2 separate regions of the Homo sapiens genome follow, and region 2 is linked to region 1. Evidence: promoter capture Hi-C in human tissues and cell types (Jung and others, 2019). All regions are on one chromosome and are shown on one strand. Each heading gives the region's core, a stretch centred on a gene start or on the middle of the fragment in contact. The rest is flanking DNA. Distances are from core to core; before and after follow the strand shown. Region 1 holds the start of SOX5 (SRY-box transcription factor 5). Region 2 has its middle 26 kb from the start of LINC00477.

Evidence for each region. The method cuts DNA at HindIII sites, captures the fragments that hold promoters and counts their contacts. A contact is called where the count stands out against the background at its distance.
Region 2: a fragment that was not itself captured here is called in contact with the fragment with the promoter of SOX5 in region 1 in 1 of the 25 tissues and cell types used here (dorsolateral prefrontal cortex).

What each region holds. Positions count from the first base shown.
Region 1 is chr12:23,947,359-23,953,313 of GRCh38, forward strand. SOX5 (SRY-box transcription factor 5) reads right to left here and starts at 2,312. Exons shown (of 15, transcript NM_006940.6): 1 at 2,206-2,312. The coding sequence starts at 2,243. The HindIII fragment of the contact is 5,378 bases long and covers 1-5,127 here.
Region 2 is chr12:24,555,415-24,561,369 of GRCh38, forward strand. It overlaps a transcript of SOX5 not described here. Among named protein-coding and RNA genes, the nearest start is that of LINC00477, 26 kb to the right of the region's middle. The HindIII fragment of the contact is 5,433 bases long and covers 1-5,413 here.

The DNA.
Region 1 (5,955 bases), core at 1,062-3,561:
ATCTAATTATATGTGATAGTTTAGTTACATCATAAATACCTCCTTTGAAGAATATAAATATTCAATATTGTGTCTACATGATACACTGTATCATGCATGGGTGCCTATAGAGACACTCACCCGTACAAATTCAATGTAAACAAATAGTAATGATTTGCTGAGATCTTTGTATGTATTACCAATTACAACCACAGGGGAAATTATTAAGGAACGTTATATTGTGTGACATTTTTCAGAATTATTTTAGCTACTAATATTTCTAAATATGATAGTCATACTAACAACCCTATTGATTATCACTTGCTTATTTAATTAGCTAGTTAGAAAAGCATGCCTCTGGGTGAAAAAAAAAAATGAAATTCCCACCAGGAGGAAAAAAGATGTTAACAGATTTGAGCATCAGAATAGGAAAGGGAAAAGTTTAGTTTAAAAAGAGATAATTGAAAAAAAAATACAAATAAAGTTCACAGCAGGAAGCTTGCCTATATAGAGAAATAGGCTACAGCCTGTTAATATGTAACTACCTTTTTATAAGTACAATCTGTTAACAGGCTTACAAATCAGCCTCAGAGTTGTATTTGCAAAAAGTATAATTAGAATTAAAGAATATTATCATTTAAGTGCTACTCTGTGCATTCTAGAAAACTTAACTGTGTTAAATTAGCAAATCGCTACATTAGGTAATGTACAGTATGTTCCACTATGAATAACTTCAACATCTACCTATGATATAAGGCTATATTTGCAAATAAAAGCTCACTAATTAAAGAGTTAATATATAGAAGTGAAAATTTTAATTCAAAACTGTTAAGAAAGCTCAAACATTCGCTGGAATTATCTAGTAAAGATGCAATTTAATTATTAAAAAAAAAAACACAGAAGAAATCAAAGAAAGATGACAGCACCGAAGTATATGTGTTGGCTATTTTACTTTCTTCCCTGATTTGATACTGGCTTTTCTAATATGTGACCACATTCAAGCGTTACTTTATCCTCAATACTCTTTTTCTCTTCCATTGCTTCACTTCTAGAATGTTTTAATCTTTGTCCTTTCTTTTTTCGTCTTTTCATATCAAATTCAGTCGTTTGAGCGATGAACAGCTTGACTTAGCATATTTTTAACCAGCTGGTCTAGCACCTAGCTTGCATTGCATAGTCAGATACAACAAATGTTTATACAGAAGGTAGCTTTCATGAAAATGAAAAAAAGCCTGGGTATCATGCATCCTGGCTTTTTTTAGCTTTTTTTTTTTTAATTCACCATACAGAATACAAAGTTTGAATTCTTTTTAATGGCAAACAAAATTCTATTTATAGTTCAAAAAAATGAACTTATGCTGGGATAAGAACTCAAATTTAAAAATTGCAATGTGTACTTATAGGAACATTAAGAGGGCTAAAATTCTTTCAAAGCCCTGCTTTACTTGCAACAACATCAAATAAAAGGATGCTGCAGATATTTCTCTAAATAGGAACAACTTAATTACAAATACACTATTCCCATCATAGCAAAAGGGGAAAATACAGTAAATTAAAATTCAGTCAAGACAGCTAACACAAAAAGTGGCCACTAAAACTTAGAAAGGGAACAGCTCCATTTATCCCCTTTTCGCCCCTATTTTTGACACTTAGGGAGTAATCTAATATAGCGATGATGTTAAATTTTCTTTGGGGGGAAAAAACGCTCTCTTATATCAACAAAAGGTCATGTGCTTTACTGAGCAGCTTCCAAAGTTTTACGGAAGGATCAAATAGGAACTTATAGCCTCCGTTTAAAGCACCACTAAAACCTTCTGTCACCCTAGAAATTACATGAGACAGAGATGCTGAAAATGGTAACATTCTGCACAAAAGCGTTTTTAAAAGGTGGGGAGAAAACAATCAATGAAGGAAGAAAGTAAGAGAGTGAATGAGAAAGACAGAAGCAGCGAGTTGGGGAGAGAGAGAGAGATGCTTAAGGTTCATTTAATTTGCTGTTATAGGACGCAACCTAAAAACATTAGCAGAAATCTCGGAGACTTTGCAAATCAGTTCAGTTTGGTCCGGGCAATCACAACAAAAAATCAGCTAACAAGATTGCAGAAGCCCTAGCTAAAGGCTTCTCTAACAAACACGTTTTGGGGGAGCATCTTCCAATGATTCAGAGACTACTGTAAAATGGGAGAGTTGTACTTCAATATATTAGGGGGAAAAAACTGTACTCACCTTTCAAACTCCTGAGGTAAATCAGGGTCAGTAAGCATGCTGGAAAAGCACAATTTCCCTTTGTCACAGCAGCCACCTATGATCGTCTCCAACTGAACCTGTCAAGTGAGTCCAAACCTTCTAAACCAATTGATTTTCTCTCTGTCTCTTCCCCCCCTCCCTCCCTCCCTCTCTCTCTCTCTCTCTCTCCCTCTCTCTCTCTGTCTCTCTCTCTCTCTCTCTCTCTCTCTTTCTCCCCCCCTCCTTCCCCTCCTCTCTCTCCTAGGACTCCTTGACCAGTCTCTTAAAGGGGTAGTGCACTTCCAGCAGCGGAGTCTGGCTGCTCCCCCCTCCGCGGAGCCACACGCTCCGGCTGCAAGGCTCTAGACAACCTCAGGGTGCCTGTCCTTTCCTTTTAATTCTCTCTTCTAGACATCACTGAATGTGAGAAGTCAACTCATTTAACACGTCTCCCATACTCTGTCTTCTAAATCATAAAACTCACACACACACATACACACGCAGAACAGTATGATTTTGTAAAACGTATTTGCTGCTGATTAAAAACCTAGTCTATATAATAACAGAAGCTCGATTAAACTGCATTTATTAACTAATTAAGCAAAAAATTTAATGTTAGTAATAGCATTTTTACACAAAGAATTGTTATTCCTTCTCACCCTTTTCTAGGCTCTCTCCGTTCACACACGGAAATACACGCACACACACACACACACACTCACACACACACAACAATCAGGCATTGTTCTGAGGGAAGAAAAGCAACTTTGACAGATTGAAATATAGCAGAGGCCCCTTCAAGGAAACCTGTAAACAACTTGTCACTCACTCTGTCGGTCTCACTGTTAGCTCGTGCTTTCCGCAAAGTGGTGCGAACGTCCTGGCAACCCGACCAAAGTTTCCTCAGCTCTAAACTCCATAAAACACGATGTGCGATGTGGAGGGGAATAGGTATCCACATGCCAAAATAACATACACGAGCGAACAAAAACCCAAAACGAAATCAAAACATAAAAACAAAAAGACGGTACTAACAAACTGTCCTGTTTGGGATCGCTGGGGAGGTCAGGAGTAGGAAGCGCCCCCCTGGCTGTGGATCTCTTTAATTTCCTCTGCCCAGGCAGCCACAGATAACAAGGTGGACAAACTATGGCTTTACAGATTCTAAGCTGGCTGGCAAGGCACAGCCTCCATAGCAGTTCCAATTATCTAGATAAAAATCTGGCAGCCGAGAAAGGTAATCAGGTAATGTACCTTTGACACGAAATGACAGAGGCACATACACACAGAGAGAGAGACACTTACACAGACATGCATGCAGAGATGGTGGCTGCCCCGTGCACCGCAGCATCTGGTCAGGGAGTAAGCACACACTTACCAACAGGAGATAGTGTGCATTCTTCACACACGCATGCACACACACACACACACACACACACACTCACTCACGCACGCTCTCCACTCCTACTGGGAGGGTTCATTCTGCACAAAAGGCTACATTACAGAGCCCGCCCCAATAAGGGAAAGAGAGGAAAAAAAAGCCTTCCATTGTTGAGAGGGCAGGTCAGTTGATTAGATTTTCTGTGGAGAATTCCACGAGGAAATTCCCTTCAAAGCCGAAGTGATTAACTGGGGGCTATTCTGGAAATGGAGCAGACAATGGCTCAATAGTCTGTACAGCCAATGTCCAGGCTGGCACTGAACTCACTTAAAAAAAAAATAAAAGCCAGACTCCCTGTTCTTTTCCACACATTCCTCCCCCCCAACCCCCTCCACTCCTTCCAACTTCCCCTCCCAATTCCTTTTATTTTGCAGCTGGACAACATTAAGGGCCTTTAAAACCACAAGGGTTGACCCCACGGCAGTTTGATTAGGTCCCACTTTTTTTTCTGGAGACAGGCAAACAGTAAGTTTACTTTTTTAGACATTCACAGTGATACATCATACACATATTCCAAAGAGAAAAAAATCAATTATGAACTTATATTAGTAAATTTATTTTTCATTCAAAGCTTATAAATTTTTAGACAAGTTGATAATAACTTAATATTTAATTCTATCATCAGGAGATGTTCTAAAAATATATATATACACACACACACACTACAAAATCAATGTGGAATAAGATTTAAGCATGTCACTATGGAGTTAAGACACTAACAAAACATAGAACTATGACCCACCCTGAAAAAGCTGTTAACAAGGGATGTGGCAAAAATGACTTGATGCTGACATGATTTTCACTTTCAGCAGTTGGGGAAGGGGGGAAGAATATTACTCACTATTCTTTCTTGTTGTTAGTCTCAAATTATTTTTTGTTACAGCAACAACCTACTCCCACACAGAAAAATGAAAAAATTGTTGCATTTATTTTAAATCTCTATTTTTTCAGCCCTTAAGGGACCTACAATCTAATATACTCTAATGGATAATGTATACAAAAATTATATTTTTCTTCATTTGTTAATGGTTGTTATGAGAATTAGGGTATAGTAGCTGCATAGCTATATACACTTTTAAAAATATTTAAAATTTTTTTCCTAACTAGGAAAAATCTTGCTTATCTTATATCAATAGAGAAAAAAAGTGAAGAAGGAGGATGGGTGAGTTACAGGGAGCCATGGGAGTGGAGTCAGGAAGAGGAGGAGGCGGGAGGAGAGGACGCAGAGAGAGCACAAGGAGACATAGTGGCAGCATAAAGATAGAAACAAAGATAATGGCCATAAGGCAGGATGCTGAGATCCGTATGGTCCCAGCTGCTGTCTTGCTACAGCTACTACCTCTGGTTGTTTCTTTGAAACTCTAATCTAGAAGGTCACCAGAGCAGGTAAGAAAGAGTATGAGTGTTTGAGGCCAACTATAGTATAAAGAAAAGATACTCATATTAGAATCTTCCTTATATTTGATTTTGATTTTATTGGCACTTAATATATGTATACATCTGTACATATGCCAAATAAACACAAAGAATATAGAAGAGAATGTTAAATGGTTTGAAAGTTAGTTTTTTGACTTCAATATATTCTGCAAACATTACTGTAGCCATTCAAAAGACAAATTATTTCTTGCACAATCATCTATGCTGAAGGAGTTGAAATAGACGAGGAACTAGACAGAAAATTTGCCAAATAATGATCATCCTAATAATGATAATTTGAACTAATGGAACTCTAAGATCATAAGGAATTTTGTTCACATAAATTAGCTCATGGATCTTACAGAGTAGAAAGGGGTAGGTATGTATTTCCCTAATTTTCCCACTGTTTAACTTGGGCAAACAGAATTTAAAGTCATTCAACTGGTTAGTAGCCCATTTGTTGCTTGAAGCCACTTCTATCTATTTCACTTATGACACCATAATGCAGAATAAACTGATCCTCCAGAATTTATAGTTAGATGAAAATCCCAAGATGGTACTCATACTTTAAGTGACCTGAAAGGCTTTCAGGTAATTGTTATAAAAAATAAAATTTATAAAAGCTGTCATTAAGCTAATACTGTATATGATGGTTTAATTGAATATTTTAAAATGTACCTCTCTAAGCCATAAAAGTTTTCTTTCATTTGAATCCTATATTGAAAATTAGCATTTCTGTCAGACTTTAGAATATCAGCAAAAGGAAAGACTGTTCCAAAATGTTTTGGTTAAATTTTGTCTTGGGTTATTTCATTAAATGATCAAAATGATCCAATCAATACAATGTTTAATATTAAAATACTGTTAATTGAATCTTTTAAATTTTGCATTAA
Region 2 (5,955 bases), core at 1,447-3,946, 610 kb after region 1:
CATTAAAGATGTTTGCTTGCATAAACAATGCCTTCCAATTATATGAAATATCCATTATTTAAATATATTTACAATCACCTGATAAAATTCATCTATAGCTTTCAGATGCATTTTGTGAGTACATCGAAAAGAGTGTAAAATACATCGGGCATTTCCTCCATGCCACAAACAGTACAATGGACTTAGAGATGATCTCGTATAACCTAATTTAATCCCAATTAGTGAGGTGATACTGCCATTACACTCATTTTGCAATTGAGGAAAACAAAGCTCAAAGAAACTCAAAACTCAAAGAGACCTCAAAGAAATTGCCAGGTCTCATGTGTGTGAGTGTGTGTGTGTGACAGAGAGACAGAAAAAGACAGAGTCCAAAGCAAGTGTCCAAAGCAAGTGAAGTACTACTAAACTGGGCTATACTGCCAAACCACAGCTATACCATTCAGATCTCCTGTTTTGAGAGTGTAACTGACTTACTTCCCCAACTGCTTCCCCTATGGCTCTAGCACCACTTAGGCACGGAGGCCATGCTTCCTGTAGCTGCTCCCAGCCAATGACTGACAGTGAGGAATGCTGATACAGGCCATTCTTTCAAGATAGGTGACTCTTCCAATGGCTGACTCTTATTTGCCTAGCCAAACCTTTCATAGGCTGCACTATAGTCAAGCTTCTTCCTACTCAATCGTCTTCCCTTGCCCCTCTCCTTGCATAAGTGTCAAACTTGCCTCATAGTCAAAAGGCTCTCCCGGCCTTGTCCTGCCCTCTCCCCTAATAAACTTCTTACAGGTCTAATCCCATCTTGGCAACTGCTTCTTCAGGAACCCCAATTAATGCAAGAAAATACATTTATTTTCTGTTTTAAGAAGACTTTCCTTTATCTTTGCTTAGTTGTACTGATAGACAAATTCTGTTTCATTGGGAAGAGAAAATAACAACTAATTTCTCCATGTTACTTTACATCACCTCTTCAAATCAGGCAATGGTATGTTTATGGTGCCTTTCTCCTTGCACCCAATTTAAATAAACAAACCAACCTACAAGTTTCTCTTTGAAGGACTGTTGACTCCAGAGAGCAAAACATTGAAAACTCAGATGGATTTCTTTTTCCACACGGACTTTCTGTTTATCCACAGGTACTATAACTTAATATAATGCAGAGGTGAATGACTATCAAACGATTAAATCTCAATAAATTTTCACTAGTTCATATTTGCTAACAGGAAATCAAAAAGATAACAAGAGGAAAAATCTACAGAATTAGGTCCTAAAGTTTTTATTTATCCTTACCTATTATGTAGGGTAAAAATGTTAATTACTGAAGGAGCACTTATATGAATAAAAGATAGAATTCACACTTGCACCAAATACAGCACCTTAATAAAACCACATTGTCAGAGATCATATACAGACCACTGAATCACTATTTTAAAGTGTTGATCTCAGCCTCAAGAAAGTGATACATTTTTTCTTTTTAGACTCAAATAAGTTCAAAGTAAGTACAAAATGAAACTTCAAACGTTATTAATGATCAGAACCTAGACTCGACTGGGAGAGAGAGCTGAGTGTAGCTAACATTTATTGAGCACCTAGTTCATGACAGACACTATGCTAGGCATTTCACACGTAGTATCTAACATAATCCAAACAATACCCCTATAAGAAAGGGCATCATAATTTGCAGTTTAAGAGGTTAAGAAGGCCAGGCACGGTGGCTCACGCTTGTAATCCCAGCACTTTGGGAGGCTGAGGTGGAGGATCACGAGGTCAGGAGATCGAGACCACTCTGACCAACATAGTGAAACCCCACCTCTACTAAAAATACAAAAATTAGCTGGGTGTGGCCGCGCATGCCTGCAATCCCAGCTACTCCAGAGGCTGAGGCACAAGAATCCCTTGAACCCAGGAGGCGGAGGGTTCAACATCCCTCCGCCTGTGGACCAACATAGCGCCACTGCACTCCAGCCTGGTGGCAGAGCAAGACTTCATTTCAAAAAAAAAAAAAAGAAAGAAAGAAAGAAAAAAAGAGGTTAAGAAAAAAAAGGAGGTAGAACCCTGTAAGTTCAGATCTCTAAATAACGTTTTGGATGAATCACAGACCTACAAATGAGATAGCCTTTCTCCTCTCCTGATTCCTTCCTGAATTCCCTCACTTCCAACAGTTTAATTGGTGTTGAAGTAAGAAAAAATGTCTTAAGCTACCAGAGAATACAAACTGCGTATCAAACTAAAGTCCGCTCATCCCTATGACTACTGTATTATTTTTAAGCTATGTACATAGGATATCATAAAAACATACAGTAGTTGAATGACATGTAGCTGAGCATCAGAGATACAATCAGGTCTTTGTTTTGGGGTGTTTTGTTTTTACTTATAATGAACTTTAAGAAATAGAAAATGAATGGACTTATACTTGTAGAATTCAATGCCACCATCACTAGTACTCCCCAAGATACATTTTTATGGCTCAATTTTGAAGGATGGTTATTTAATGGTTATTTACATGCATTCAAATTTTTCCTAATTTTGTCAATATGCTGCCCCTACTGAATGTTATCCTTAATTGCAAGTAAAATCATTAGTTGCCTATAAGGTATGATTTGAGTAGTCCTGAAAAAGTCCTCATGCATGTAAATATTTCCTCCTGGCAGCTTTCCTTGATACCTGTAATTGCAACAAGTTTATCTCTATGGAATTAGACGATCATAATAAACTGCCAAAATAACAGTAATATCATCTAGTTTGAGAATTAAACCATAATGAACTATTAGCAACTTTAAAATAATTAGCTTATGAGCCAGAGGTTAAATGGGGCAAATGAGGCAGGAATTCAGAAGGGCCCATCAAAGCAAAATGGACTGTCAAGGGCCCATCCTGAAGGTCAGGGTCCTCGCTGGTAAAGCCTTCAAAAGTCCCGTGTAGGCAGATAAAGGAGCAGGGCTTTGGAGGAAACAACCCCCCGCGAAATTCCGCTAACTCATAGTTAGCCTACCTTTGACCCTGACTCAATTTTAAAGACAAGGAAATTGAATTTGGTAAAATTTATTAAATAGTCCTACAGAAATGTCCCCATATGGCCTGGCTAAAACAAACTAAAAGTGCCTGATTGTCTGCCCTTCTACTGAGCCTTAAGCACTCCATTTCTCCCCTCTTAAATATCAAAATTCATTATATTTAAGCAAAAGGTTAGATCTTTGCTTCATATTTTTAAAAACTTCACTTTACTCCTTTATTAATGGCAACTTTTCATGCAAACGAACTCTTGGTTAATTTAAGATCTTGAAATTACTTCTCCACATCAGAAATCCCTCTCATAAATATTAGGTATGAGTGATTATTTACGTTACATCACACACACAAAGTAAACAACAAAGACCCCACTCACATTTGAGAATCATTTACTATTCCAACTCCCCAAGCTCCCCCAAATGGGAAATGGAATAACCAGACTGATCATAATTGGATTAAGAACCATAATTCTTTAATTCATTCATCAAATTGAGGCATTTGGAACAGTTTATTTACAGAGTTGTTTAGACAGTTTTGTGTGGTGTTTTTTAAGATAAACCAAAATGCCTTTCTGAAATAAGTTTCAGATCCCAAATCATTAACATATGAAAACCAAATGCAGACAATTTACAAATGGGTGTTTTAAAACAATGTTTGGAACAAAATTGGACTTTTATTTCATTAACTATCTACAAATCTAAGTTCAGGATATAGTTTATTTGAAACAGCCAAGCACTTTCTTCGCCTTTAAAATAAATCTTCATTTCTCAGACTAAAAATTTTTGACCAGTGCATGAGGGAATGCATTTGACTTCAGGCCTAGACAAATAAGTTTCCAGGTTACTCTCAAAACTCCAATTATAGCATTCTCTACCACTGAAGTTGATTGGATATTGGGTGAATCATCCAGGTTATGCCAATCAATTATATCCAACAATTATACCTGCTGGAAATCTAAACAGTATTCAACATTAGAACTCTCCGTTATTTGAAATCCAGTGTATTTTAGGAGATTAGGAAACATAAATTTTGTCCTGTAAGTTTTACTTTTTTATATAATCTGAACATACCCTCAAATCAATGATTACTTATCACTCAGAAAAAGAACAGAGCTTTTCAAGAAGGTAGTACATACTGTAAGCATTAGATCATATTTTAAACTTGCTTTGTAAGTAAAAAAAAAAAAATTCTTTAAGCATTTAAATTCATTCCTTTAACTGGAAAAGGTAAATTTAGAAATTTAAATTCTCCTTATCACTCATAACTCACCCCCACTGAGGACAACCAAAAAGATGACAACATACCTGAGTATAAACTTCACTCTTTTGCTATTTACTATTTATATACTCCACAGATAGCATCTTTCCAAGTGTATATTCATTTTTTTTCTTTTACCAAACCACGTGTCAGTCTAAACAGGATGTGCACTTACATGTATAGAACTAACTTAATTTGAATTAGCCATTGGACCTCAAATGCCTAGTTATTTACCAAACAGGTTTTGGAGTTTTGAATTCTATATACAACATGCCATTCAACCAGAACTGTTTAAGCTCAACAACAAAACTAATACAAGCTTTCCGTATTAAGAATTGAAGTTTTTCCTGTATTAAGAGTTTACACTTGCAAGTCTGTGTCAGATTGGATCAATACTACCCACTCAAAAAGGCTACAAAATGAATTTTTTTAAACCCACAGCAAGAAAAAACTGTTGATTCTTCAGGAACAAGGTTGTTAGAAGAGAGATCACTGGAAAGAAAAGGGGGAAAAAAGAAAGAATTTCAAGCAAGTATGCTACTATGTAATTAACACAAATAACTAAATAATTATGCACATCCCTTCCCACCCCCACAATTAAATGTTTTTAAACAACTCATGTGATGAAAGATCTACCTTTTAGGCAAACAAAAGCAATCCCTAGCAGTTTAAGGATTTAAGGCTGTATTGCATCAGTTTTAAGTGATGCTTATGATTTTTATCTTGTATAGTTCTGAGGAATAAACAGTTGATGGCATAATTTGCAGGAGAACTTTGCACAGTGCCTAAAAGAACTTCCACTGTAAGTACTTATGATTTTAAATCATTGTGGCTGAATTTATCTAGGCTTCTGCCTGGGAGCTATATTTAAATCAGGAAGAAGCACCCCTAGAAACTTTGTTCCATGTATCTGCATTTGAAACCAGATTCCTTCCCTATCTGAGCTAACAGCAATTCTCATACAGCTGAATTCCTTTAAAATTAGACAGATCAAAATTTAGCAGTTCTGTAAAGGCTCTAAGAAATCGTCCTCCTTTTAAATGCTATAAAAGTCAAACTTGAAAAACATTTCCGTATACTTTAAAGCCATCTGGCCCTTAACCTAATCACTCTTGGCCATCGAGCCTCACTCCCGTAATCCTGATCAAAAATTTTCCTCTGGTTTTTCTGATGGAAATGTCCATTGCCTACAAATCTCACATGTGCCTACTTCATTGGCCTGTTTGTGTCTGTGTGTGTGTTTTCAGGGTACTAGGGGCCATTATTTATGAAAAGCAAGGAAACAAATCACTGTCCAGTCCCTTTGCAGATTCCCACACTTACTGCCCCAAATCCCACAGATTTCCCTTGGTCCTGCCCTTGGCTAAAGAACTCTGCTGAGCCAGAAGGCAGTCCCTGGGGACACCTCCTTATGCCTTCCTTGACAAAGTCCTTTGGCTATCTGGGTATGTGAGGATCTCAAGTGGGTTCCAGCAAATCCCTAAACTTTTGTAAGAAAGTACAGTTGACTGCCACCCAGAGTGCCTGGACTGCCTGGCACCGAGTGTAGGGCTCTGCATATTCACAGGATTCCTCGTCTTGACCTGCTTTAGCTGAGAAGGGAACACATTAAAATGAATTCACATTCATCATCACATTCTGAATTTAGTCACAGAAACCAGCGTCTTCAGATATTCACCAGGGTCAATCTATTTA